2 separate regions of the Homo sapiens genome follow, and region 2 is linked to region 1. The links are contacts of gene promoters, found by promoter capture Hi-C in human tissues and cell types (Jung and others, 2019). All regions are on one chromosome and are shown on one strand. Each heading gives the region's core, a stretch centred on a gene start or on the middle of the fragment in contact. The rest is flanking DNA. Distances are from core to core; before and after follow the strand shown. Region 1 holds the start of HELT (helt bHLH transcription factor). Region 2 overlaps LINC02436 (long intergenic non-protein coding RNA 2436).

Region 1 (5,068 bases), core at 1,567-4,066:
GGTAGGACGGGCGCCCGGGTCGCAGCTGGCAACGGTCCGCCTAAGTCAGTTTGGGGCAGGTCCTTCAATTTGCATTTTCCTGAGAGCCAAGGGCAGTGTTCTTCGCCTCCCCTGTTTCTCTGAGGCTAATGCTCAAGATGGGGCGGGTGCAGGAAGCCGCGAATCCCGCCCTTAAGCGATGCCTAGAATATCTGCCTGAACCTCCATTTAACGTCCCCCTCCCTCAGACTCCACAGCGGGCCCCTCACCAAGTTACTGAGGGCTGTTACCTTGAACCCTGTCAGCCTTGCGCCCTGGGCACCGCGGAGGGGACGGGTGTGGATGAGCAGAAGGTAATACATAAATCCCTCTCTTTGGGTCTTTATCAGAAAACGTTTATTACCAGGGGGAGATCCTTCAGAAGACTCATTCGCTCTTTGCCTCCCCCAGCCCAGATTTTTGGGGTACAATATTTACACATTATGTGTACAATATATACAGCATTTCTCCTAAAAGCGCCCAAAGCGAGGAGAAATCTGGCGGGCGAGTGGGCGTCAGAGCACCGGGGGGTGCTGGGGCGTGTGCAGGTTAAGGGCGTTGGGGTGCGCGTGGCCGATCAGGTTGAGGTAATGCCGGTCCAGGCCCTGCACCGGTGTCAGGAAGGGGCTGTGCTGCTGCGCTGGGCTAGCGAGCGGCACTGGCGCGCTGGGCAGGTAGGGCAGCGCGGGGCTGCGGGCCGCGCCAGGCGGCCAGGGGAAAGGCCCGGCACCAGAGCCCTGCGGGAACACAGCGGCCTCGCCCGGGCTGTGACCAGCGAATTCGGGCCCCGCAGGGTGCAGCTGATAGGAGAAATCCGGCTCCGGGAGCGAACCCAGCGGCGGAAAGGCGGGCTCCGCGCCCAGGCGGGCCTTGGACTGCAAGAAGGCGAGGATGCGCGCGTACTTCGTGTCCTTGGTCTCCATCCGCTCCACCGTGGTGAGGTAATGCACCAGGTTCTTCATGCACTCGTGGTAGCCATAGTGGAAGTAGTTGGCAAACTCCGCTAGAAGTTCTGCTGGAGGAACGAGAAAGCCCGTAGGACGGACACACCCTGAGTGCCCCTTCCCCACGCGAGCCCAAAGCGGGTGCAGGGCACCTCCCACCACATTTTCTGGCCAAAGTTCCCATTTGAGGCCCGCCCTCTCCTCTGCGCAGTCTTAGAGACTGGCGAGGCACGCGCAAACGCCCTCTTTCCCTGAGAGCCTGACCCCACCCACCCCACCCGGGAGAAGGAGGTGGAACCAGCCTCCCTGGGAACCAGTTCTCCCTCGCCGCCTTGCTGTCGCCGAGCAGGGAGAGGCGCCTTCGCAGGACCCCTGCCCTCCTGGAGAGTGGAGCTCTAGTAGAGCTCTCGGGAACACTCAGTCACTCCCCTCCCAGCCCCAGGGTCTCTGGGTGGCGCAGGCGCCTGGCCCAGGCGTCCCATTCCCTAACCTGTGCCCACCTTTTTCCCTTCCCCGGGGAAAATCAGCGGAGTGCAGTGCTCTCAGGTACTGAACGGTCATCTCGAGGATCTCCGCCTTCTCCAGCTTCCCGGAACTCTGCAAAAGGAGGAAGGGCCCCTCGCAGCGGCCCAGCGCCTGCTGGTCGGGCACTGTGGCGCTGGAGAGGACCAGCGAGCGGACGCGGCTGCGGATCTGCGCCAGAGCCTCCTGAGGTTCGCCCTGCGCTCAGGCCCCCCGCCTGGGAGGGGCCCGCAAGTGAGGTCCTCTGTGTCCGCGGGCTCGGGCGTCTCCGCAGAGTGGCCGCAGAGGCCTCCCAACGCCTGGCACCCGGCTCCGGGTCGCCAACGTTACCTGCTTCGCCAAGGCCATGGGCACTGTCTTGCCCAGCTCGTTCAAGCAGCGGTTGATCCTGTCCCTCCTCCGCTTTTCTATCACTTTATGAGAAACGGGGGTTCTCTGCGAAGAGAGGGTTGTATGTTTAGGATGGCTTTGCCCGGGAAGTCGTCAAAGGCGCGGCTCTAGCAGCTGGGTGCAAGCCGCCTCTCCAGCCGCGCACACTGCTCAGATTCGCTCTAGGAAGGGACTCCTGGCCCGCCACGCTCGGGCCAGGTGAGCTCTGCCTTCTGACGCCCGCGCTGGCGCGCTCCCCTTCCAGCCACCCTACCCAGGCCTTTGGGGAGGTGGCCGCCAGCCTCCAGGCAGGACTTCTACCTGGTTGAGCACCCTCCTCTCTCTACCCCACCCCCTTCCCAAACCACTCGAGATTCCTCCACACTCAAAGTCCCGTGCGGGCACTTCCCTGCCATCGGTCCACCCAAGTGGCGGGTCGGTGAGTCAGATGCCTCCACCACCAGGGCGCAAGTGCCATTTGGGCTCAGCCGACTCACTTTGCGTTCCTTGAGCTTGTCTGACATCCTGGTCAGTACGCGCCCTCGGGAGAGGCGGTGGCGCGGGGCACCCGTCCACTTTTCCGCCTCGTGTGCCTCCTCGAGTGTCCCAGGTAGACTGCAGCCTCCCAACTCCGAGGGCTGCCTTATAAAGCGGTCATCTAGGGCTCCAGATGCATTCACGAGTTGAATTATTCCATAGGATTAGGGGAGCTGCGTTTGGAGGATGTATGCATTCAAGATCAGTTTTAAAGAAGTTAAGAAAAAAAAAAAATTAGCAGCCGAGGGGGGCGAGCTGGGGGCAGATCAGCTTTGTTAATCCACGTGGCCCTTCAAAGGACACGTGATCGGCCCAGGAATAACATTTGCATGGCAACAGCTCGGGCGGGAAAAGGAGGCGGTAAACTGGGGCCGGCGGGCGAGCAAGCGCCTGCAGCAGTCGCGGGCGCGGAGCGCAGGGGCGCAGCGGCCGCGGGCACCGGGGGGCGAGGACCCTCACAAAACAGTGTCGCCTCTTTTAGTCCCACCGCTGAGTCTCACATGATCGCCTGTTTACAAATCCCAGCAAGCCCGCCGTCCCAGCGCCGAGTGCGTTTTAAAGCCTGTCCAGAGTCATTAAAGTAATTAAGTAAGCCTTTAATAGGCTGTTCCGCCGGGTTCAAGGGAGAGCTCTTGGAGACGGAGGCGCCCCGTTTGTTCCCAGGCTTTTCTCACACGACTTGGTGACACGTCCTTCTCCCCCCTTTTTGTTTACACCGCTTTATTTGTCCGGACATCCCGGCAGGTGTGGGGCTGCGGCTGGCACACGAGGCTCCCGCCTCGCCTCGCCTCGCCCCTCCCGCCGCTGTTTGGCACGCGACGCTCCCCCCTACTCCCTGACCACGTCGCTGGCTTTCTTTTCTCCCCACCCCTCCTGCTCCCTCTTCGCGGGGGGAAGAGGCTCAATTTGTAGCCTATTATCCTATACGAAAATGTCCATTGAAAAGTATGAATAGTTTCATTGGGCTAAATTTTAATAATGCCAGAGGGTGGGGGAGGAGAGACTGGCGGGCGTGTGTGTGTGTTTGTGTGTGAAGGGGCGGGTGGGAGGATTGGGGGGCAACACGGAGAAGAGTGGGCCGAGAAGAAAAGGGGGAATGCAGCTGGCCCAGGCAAGCATTATGCAACGTCACCTGCGAGAGGGGGCGCCTACAGACCCCTATTCATTTGCCTAATTTTGGTCAATTTAACAAACTTCAGGAGAAATTATTGTGGCTTTGTCAGGGAGGGTGAAGCCTTCTGATCGAATTAACAGCATGTTTTGATCCGGTAAATGTCATTAGAAAGGGAGAAACAATCGCGCTTAGAGGGCTCTGAGTAATGCGCCCAAGTGGAGACGCCAAAGCGCACGGCTCACAAAGGGAGCAAGTAGCTGCCACAGGGAACTTTTGTACCCGCCCATCGCCCAAGTTTTGACACAAAAAGGCATTATTTCATACTTGAATACGTTTAATCCAACGATTGTCTATTTTCTGCAAACATATTTTCACAGCATTGTTAACTTTTTATGTCTCCCTTTCGCTGGCGTCTTTTCTTAACGTTTGGGGGCGGGAGAGCGCAGACACTTTGGGCATCAATATTTGTCACTGAAAAGGGCCCTGTGAAGTTTGGGAAGTTGATCTCTTTTTTATGGTTTTAGAAAGCGAAAATATCGGGGGGAGGAGGAGGGAGGGAAGGCACGAACAGAAACGAGGGAGGAAATTTGCTGGACGGGCCCAAGGGGAAGGAGGGGGGCGGCGGCGGCTGGGAACTCTCTTGGCCGCCTGCGCCTCTGAGGGCAACCTGGCCCCGCGGCCAGAGGCCACCTCCCCCAGGACGGGCCTCGCTCACACTTGCTGCCTCGGATCCTATACTCTGGGGGCTCTGAGCTTGTGGGGTGTGGGTGGGGGGTGAGCTTTCTTGCAGATTGAAACGATAAAAATGATTTTTGTTTTATGGCCCTTTCTAGAGCCACCGAACTCTCACCTCTCTAATCTTTTCCATCTGGGAACAGCTGAGACCGCTTCTCAGATTTTTCTTCTTTTCTGCCTGCCCCTAACCCTGCCTAAATTCTCTCTGTTCTGCAGGGAGATGGCAGGGCCCAGCGCCCCCCTTGGGGTCGTTAGACCTTGGCAGGGGTGGGTAGGCGGCGCTCTTCTAGCTGGTGGGACCTGGGAGCCTCAGGGCGCAGAGCCAGGCCTGGGGTGCCAGGCCTCGGGGAAGCCATCGGCCCACCTGCTGCGGCCTGGGAGATGTGAGGGCTCGGTCTGCACCTCGCACCCCTAGGGTGTCCCTCTCGGTCCTGCCTCTAGTCTCCTCACGATGTTTCCTTTCTGCTTCACGCCAGATTGGACACGATCCGCACCCTCCCAGGTTGCTCTGCCAGCCGCGAGTGCCCTCTCAGGGGTTGTCGATTTCAGGATATTCACTCGCACACAAAGAGATTAAACGCGAACCCTTATCATCCAAATTAACTAACGTGAATGGGTAAAAAGGAGCGCGCACACTTCGCACTCCCACTCCCATTTTTAAGCCAGCGGCCCGGGCGTTGATCCTCTTACTGCCGGTGTTAACCGCCAGCTGCAGGCACCTTCCACGGACCACATTTCATTCCATGCACACTGTTTAATTTCCCGGGTTTGGTCTCGGCGCTTGGCTCAAGGCTTGCCCAGGGCTAAAAGTACCCGCGTGCAGGTGAGG
Region 2 (5,068 bases), core at 1,532-4,031, 44 kb before region 1:
TTAATTTCAGGAATTAATGTTTTAAAGAGTACAATGTTTTTATTCACCAATAAACTGAAAGTCAATTTCTAGATGTTTCTTTCTCGTGTATGCTCGATTTGTTGTATTGGTAAGCAAAGCCCTGGAAGGAAGCTTTACCTGCTCCTCAGGCTCACCCATCTTCACTGTGACTGATGGGGAGGCAGTGAGGTCAGTGAGGCTCCTTGCAGGATGCAGCCACTCAAGGCCAATCACGAAGATTGTTCTCCCTAAGGTATTTCTTGGTGAGGCATTTTAAGGACCTTTTAGAAAATTGTTTCTCAGAAACAACTGTGATTTTATTTTTGAAGCATTCACTGTTAACAACATCTGTGAGATTTTCAGTTTTTCCATTGATTTTAACCTTTTAGAAACTGTTCAAAATTTCCAGAATCAAAAGTTCCATCTTCTATTGAATGAGTAAGGTCCAAATTAAACTTCCATGTTGACCACATATGCTTCTTGTCTTTCTTCGGCATCATCTTGAGAGCCGGCCATATGATATGAGGGCAGGAATTAATGTTTGTGTGAATCTAAGTATGTTTGTTAGATCTCTAAGCCTAAAATTGGCAATACATCTGCACTAGAGCCCAAACTACCAATCCACACTCTATTCCACCAGTGAACCCACCTATGCTTTGCAGCAATTCCTCACTGAAGATACTGGCATATGCATTATCTGCCCTGTACTACCACCAGCAAACCATTATCATAGGTCTAAAACTCATCACATTTAGGCTGGACGTGGTGGCTCATGCCTATAATCCCAGCCCTCTGGGAGGCTGAGGCAAGAGAATCACTTGAGGCCAAGAGTTGAAGACCAGCCTGGGCAACATAGTGAGACCCTATCTCTACAAAAATAAAATAAAATAAATTAACCAGGTGTGGTGGCACACACCTGTAGTCCCAGCTACTCAGGAAGCTGTGGTAGGATCACTTGAGCCCAGGAGGTTGAGGCTGCAGTAAGCTGAGATCACACCATTGCACTACAGCCTGGGTGACAGAGCAAGGTCCTGCCTAAAAAAAAAAAAAAAAAAATTCACATTTTTCTCACACAAAAAAATCATGAAACATTTATCTGCACATGGCATTAAGATAGCTACTATATTATGTTCATTAACTAGCACGTGAGAGGCCTAGCACATGTAGGTCTTGGTGAGTCTAAGTCTGAGTGGTACATAATTCAGAGAAAAGACAGAGGATCTAGATAATATATTCATCTTACATATGGTCAACAAGCACTGTATTTTTAAGAATTTTAAGAAACTGCAGAGTTTGAGAATTTTAAGAAGCTTCTTCTGATTAGATCAGCATTTCAGGGACTCCTTGATGGACTTAGCTTTCACCTTACAATAATTCTCCAATCTTTATGTTGGAAGAAATAAACCAGATTTGGGACGTGAACATTTGATGTGTATGTATTCACCTTTTGCTGTATCACTAGGGAGCAGTTATTAAGTATAGTTCTATGAATCTCGTTATTGAGGTGGTTTCCAGCATAGCAGGTGTAGTCGTTAACCATGGCTACTGAGTGTGACTGGACCTCTCTGCTGAGGCCTCACAGACATGCTGCTGTATAACCTCACTTCCGGCCAGGTGCAGTGGCTCACGCCTATAATCCCAGCACTTTGGGAGGCCAAGGTGGGTGGATCACTTGAGATCAGGAGTTCGAGACCAGCCTGACTAATATGGTGAAACCCTGTCTCTACTAAATACAAAAAAATTAGCCAGACGTTGTGGTGCATGCCTGTAATCCCAGCTACTTGGGAGGCTGGAAGGCTGAGGCAGGAGAATTGCTTGAACCCAGGAGATGGAGGTTGCCGTGAGCCGAGATTGTGCCATTGCACTCCAGCCTGGGCGACAAGAGCGAAAACTCCATCTGGAAAAAAAAAAAAAGAACTTCATTGCCTTGCTCTCCTCTCTCCGCTCATTCCTTAGAGAAAGGATTCCATTGGATCTTTTTCTGTTAGACCTTGTGTCACTTAGGATGAGGCTCTGTGTGAGTAAAAGAAACTTGGCCCCTATGTCTTAAACAGGACAGAAGCATGTTTTTCTGTTCCATAAGAGAAGAATGGAGGCAGCAGCCCATGCTGATGTGGCGGCTCCAGGTATTACCCAGGCTCTCTACCTTCCAAAGCTGAGTTTCCTGCCTTCAGGGTCACATCGTGGCTCCAACAGCTGCTGGAGCTCTGGCCTTCGTATTCTTGTGGCAGGCCTGAAGAAGGGGAAAAGGTGGAATGGTGGAAAGGGCTTCTTTCTAGCTGAGTCTGTTCCCTTTAAGCACGATTCTCAGGGCACTTGCAAACACTTCTGCTTAGGCTCGGCGCGGTGGCTCACGCCTGTAATCCCAGCACTTTGGGAGGCTGAGGCGGGCGGATCACCTGAAGTCGGGAGTTCGAGACCAGCCTGACCCACATGGAGAAACCCCGTCTCTACTAAAAATACAAAATTAGCTGGGCGTGGTGGCGCACGCCTGTAAACTCAGCTACTCGGGAGCCTGAGGCAGGAGAATCACTTGAACCCAGGAGGCAGGGGCTGCGGTGAGCCGAGATTGTGCCATCGCACTCCAGCCTGGGCAATAAGAACAAAACTCCGTCACAAACAAACAAACAAACAAACAAAAAAACACTTCTGCTTTTATCTTACCGGTGGAATTTAGTCAGGTGGATAAACCTAGCTGCAAAGATGGCTGGGAAATGTAGTCTTTATTCTGAGTAGCTTTTCTGACCAGCTAGGAAGGGAGGGAGGGAGGACGGTGGATGTTGTGGTAGAAAACTAAGCTTCTGCCAGATCACTTAGGTGGAATAGTCTGTTTATATCCATGAAGGCTTAACGCCTCATAACTAGCGACCACTATTTTATAGAAAGAACCTGTATGGATACACGATTGATGCAATTAGTGCAGTCAGCAGTCATCTGGACATCCTCAAAGAAGCTCAGAGATTGTTCTTGTGTCATATGAGCGTATTCGCAGTAATAGTTTATTCCGTACTTGAATGTTTTCAACTGTAAGAATTCATATAAAGCAAATTTAAACTAAAATCACAAAAATACATCCACTGTATATATTTAACAAAGTCTTCAGGGAATATAATAGACTGACGTAAAACTGTGAGACATCTAAAACACAGTAAAAGGCTATAAAATAACTAATGGCCTTTAATGAAAGAATTAACTAAAGTATGATTGTTTAATACAATCCCCCAAATAAGCTTCTTGTTAATTTTTAGGGAGGTGGAGGAACTCCAGCACCAACTTATATATTCTACATCCTATGTCTTTGAGTAGGTTTACTAATCATAGGTCTTTGAAGATAACTTTCTTTACAACTTGTGCTACCGTTTAATAGTCGTGTGATTTTACAAGGAGGTTTATTGAAGTATAATTTACGTATGATAAAATTCACCCATTGTAAGTGATTTTAGTAAATTTGTTGAGTTGTGGAACTGCCACCACAAACCAGTTTTAGAACATTTCCATCTGCTTTCTGCTTCTGTAAGTTTGTTTTTACTAGATATTTCCTATAAATGGAATCAATTATGCAGTATGTATTTCGTGTCTAACTTCTTGCGCTTAATGGTTTTAAAGTTCATCCATGTTGTAGCATGTAAAGAAATCCATTCCTTTTCATTGCTGAATAGTATTCCATTGTAGGAATGTACCATATTTTGCATATTCATTCATCAGTGGATAGCTATTTAGACTGTTTCCAGTTTTTGACTAGCATGAATAATAGTGCTATAAACTTTTGTGTACATGTCTTTGTGTGGACATGGATTTTCATTTTTCTGATAGATTCTTAGAAATAGAATTGCTGGGTTGTATTATTCGTTTGTTTAAGTTTTTAAGAAACTGCCAAACTGCATTCCAAAGTGTCTGTACCATTTTACAATCCTAGTAGCAATACATAAGGGTTTCAATTTCCCTGTTTCCTTAACAACACTTGTTATTGTCTGTCTTTTTCATCATAGCCATCCTAGTGGGTGTCTAGAGGTATCTTCTTCTGGTTTTAATTTGCATTTCCCTAATGAATAATAGTTTTGAGCATCTTTTCTTCATATATTAGACATTGACATTTCACCTTTGGGAAAATGTCTATTCAAATCTTTTGCTCATATAAAAAATTTGGTCATTTGGCAAGAACTTTCTATGTGTTGGTCATTGTAAATGCTCTCTATATATTCTAGATTTAAGTCTTTTATCACATATATGATTTGCACACATCTTATCCCAGCCTGTGACTTGTCTTTTTATGTTCTCAATCGTGTCTTTTTTTTTTTTGAGACAGGGTCTCACTGTGTCAACCAGGCTGGAGTGCAATGGCACAATCACAGCTCACTACGGCTTGACCTTCTGGGCTCAGGTAATTCTCCCACCTCAGCCCCCGGAGTAGCTGGGACTACAAGTGTGCACCACCACACCCAGCTATTTTTGTATTTTGGGTAGAGATGGGGATCTCACCATGTTGCCCAGGCTGGTTTTGAACTGCTGGGCTCGAGGGATCCACCGGTCTTGGCCTCCCAAAGTGTTGGCGATTACAGTCATGAGCCACTGCACCCAGCCCATTGGTGTCTTTTAAGCACAAAAGTTTTAAATTTTGATCTAGTCCAGCTTATCAATGTTTTCTTTTATGGTTTGTGCTTTTGGTGTTGAGTTGTAGGATTCTGAACAAGTTGTCTAACCTCTTCAAGCTTCAGTTCCTTTGTCTATGAAATCGTAATAATAATTCTTACCTCAAAGGTAACTGTAATTTAAATCTGATTTCTTTGTATGTGTCTGGAAAAGAGGGAGGTATAAGCAGTGACTGCAAGTTTAATTTTCAACTTCCTCTTAAGTTTCATAAGTTCTTGGTACTTATGGCTGGCTTGCTGGGGGCAGGGAACTTGGTATGTGTAAAAGTTACTGAATGTATCTGCTAATACATTTTGCCCTCATCTTGGATCCAAGCGATCAAGCTTCACAGATGGAAGGAAATGAGCAGGTGAGGTAAGGGGAACTGAAGTACATAGGGGGTTAATAACTGGTTGAAGTTGCCTGGGAAAGGGAGTGG

The links. Contacts are between HindIII fragments. The study calls those that stand out against the background at their distance.
Region 2: a fragment that was not itself captured here is called in contact with the fragment with the promoter of HELT in region 1 in 3 of the 25 tissues and cell types used here (H1 embryonic stem cells, aorta and liver).

Annotation. Positions count from the first base shown.
Region 1 is chr4:185,016,238-185,021,305 of GRCh38, reverse strand. It overlaps HELT (helt bHLH transcription factor), which reads right to left and starts at 2,816. Exons shown (of 4, transcript NM_001300781.2): 1 at 2,351-2,816; 2 at 1,815-1,919; 3 at 1,463-1,559; 4 at 353-1,033. The coding sequence starts at 2,377. The coding sequence ends at 534. RefSeq lists enhancers at 1-184, 185-1,112, 1,827-2,406, 2,407-2,985, 2,986-3,566. The HindIII fragment of the contact is 22,587 bases long and covers 1-5,068 here.
Region 2 is chr4:185,060,413-185,065,480 of GRCh38, reverse strand. All of the region lies in intron 3 of LINC02436 (long intergenic non-protein coding RNA 2436), which reads right to left. Among named protein-coding and RNA genes, the nearest start is that of LINC02436, 11 kb to the right of the region's middle. The HindIII fragment of the contact is 4,120 bases long and covers 722-4,841 here.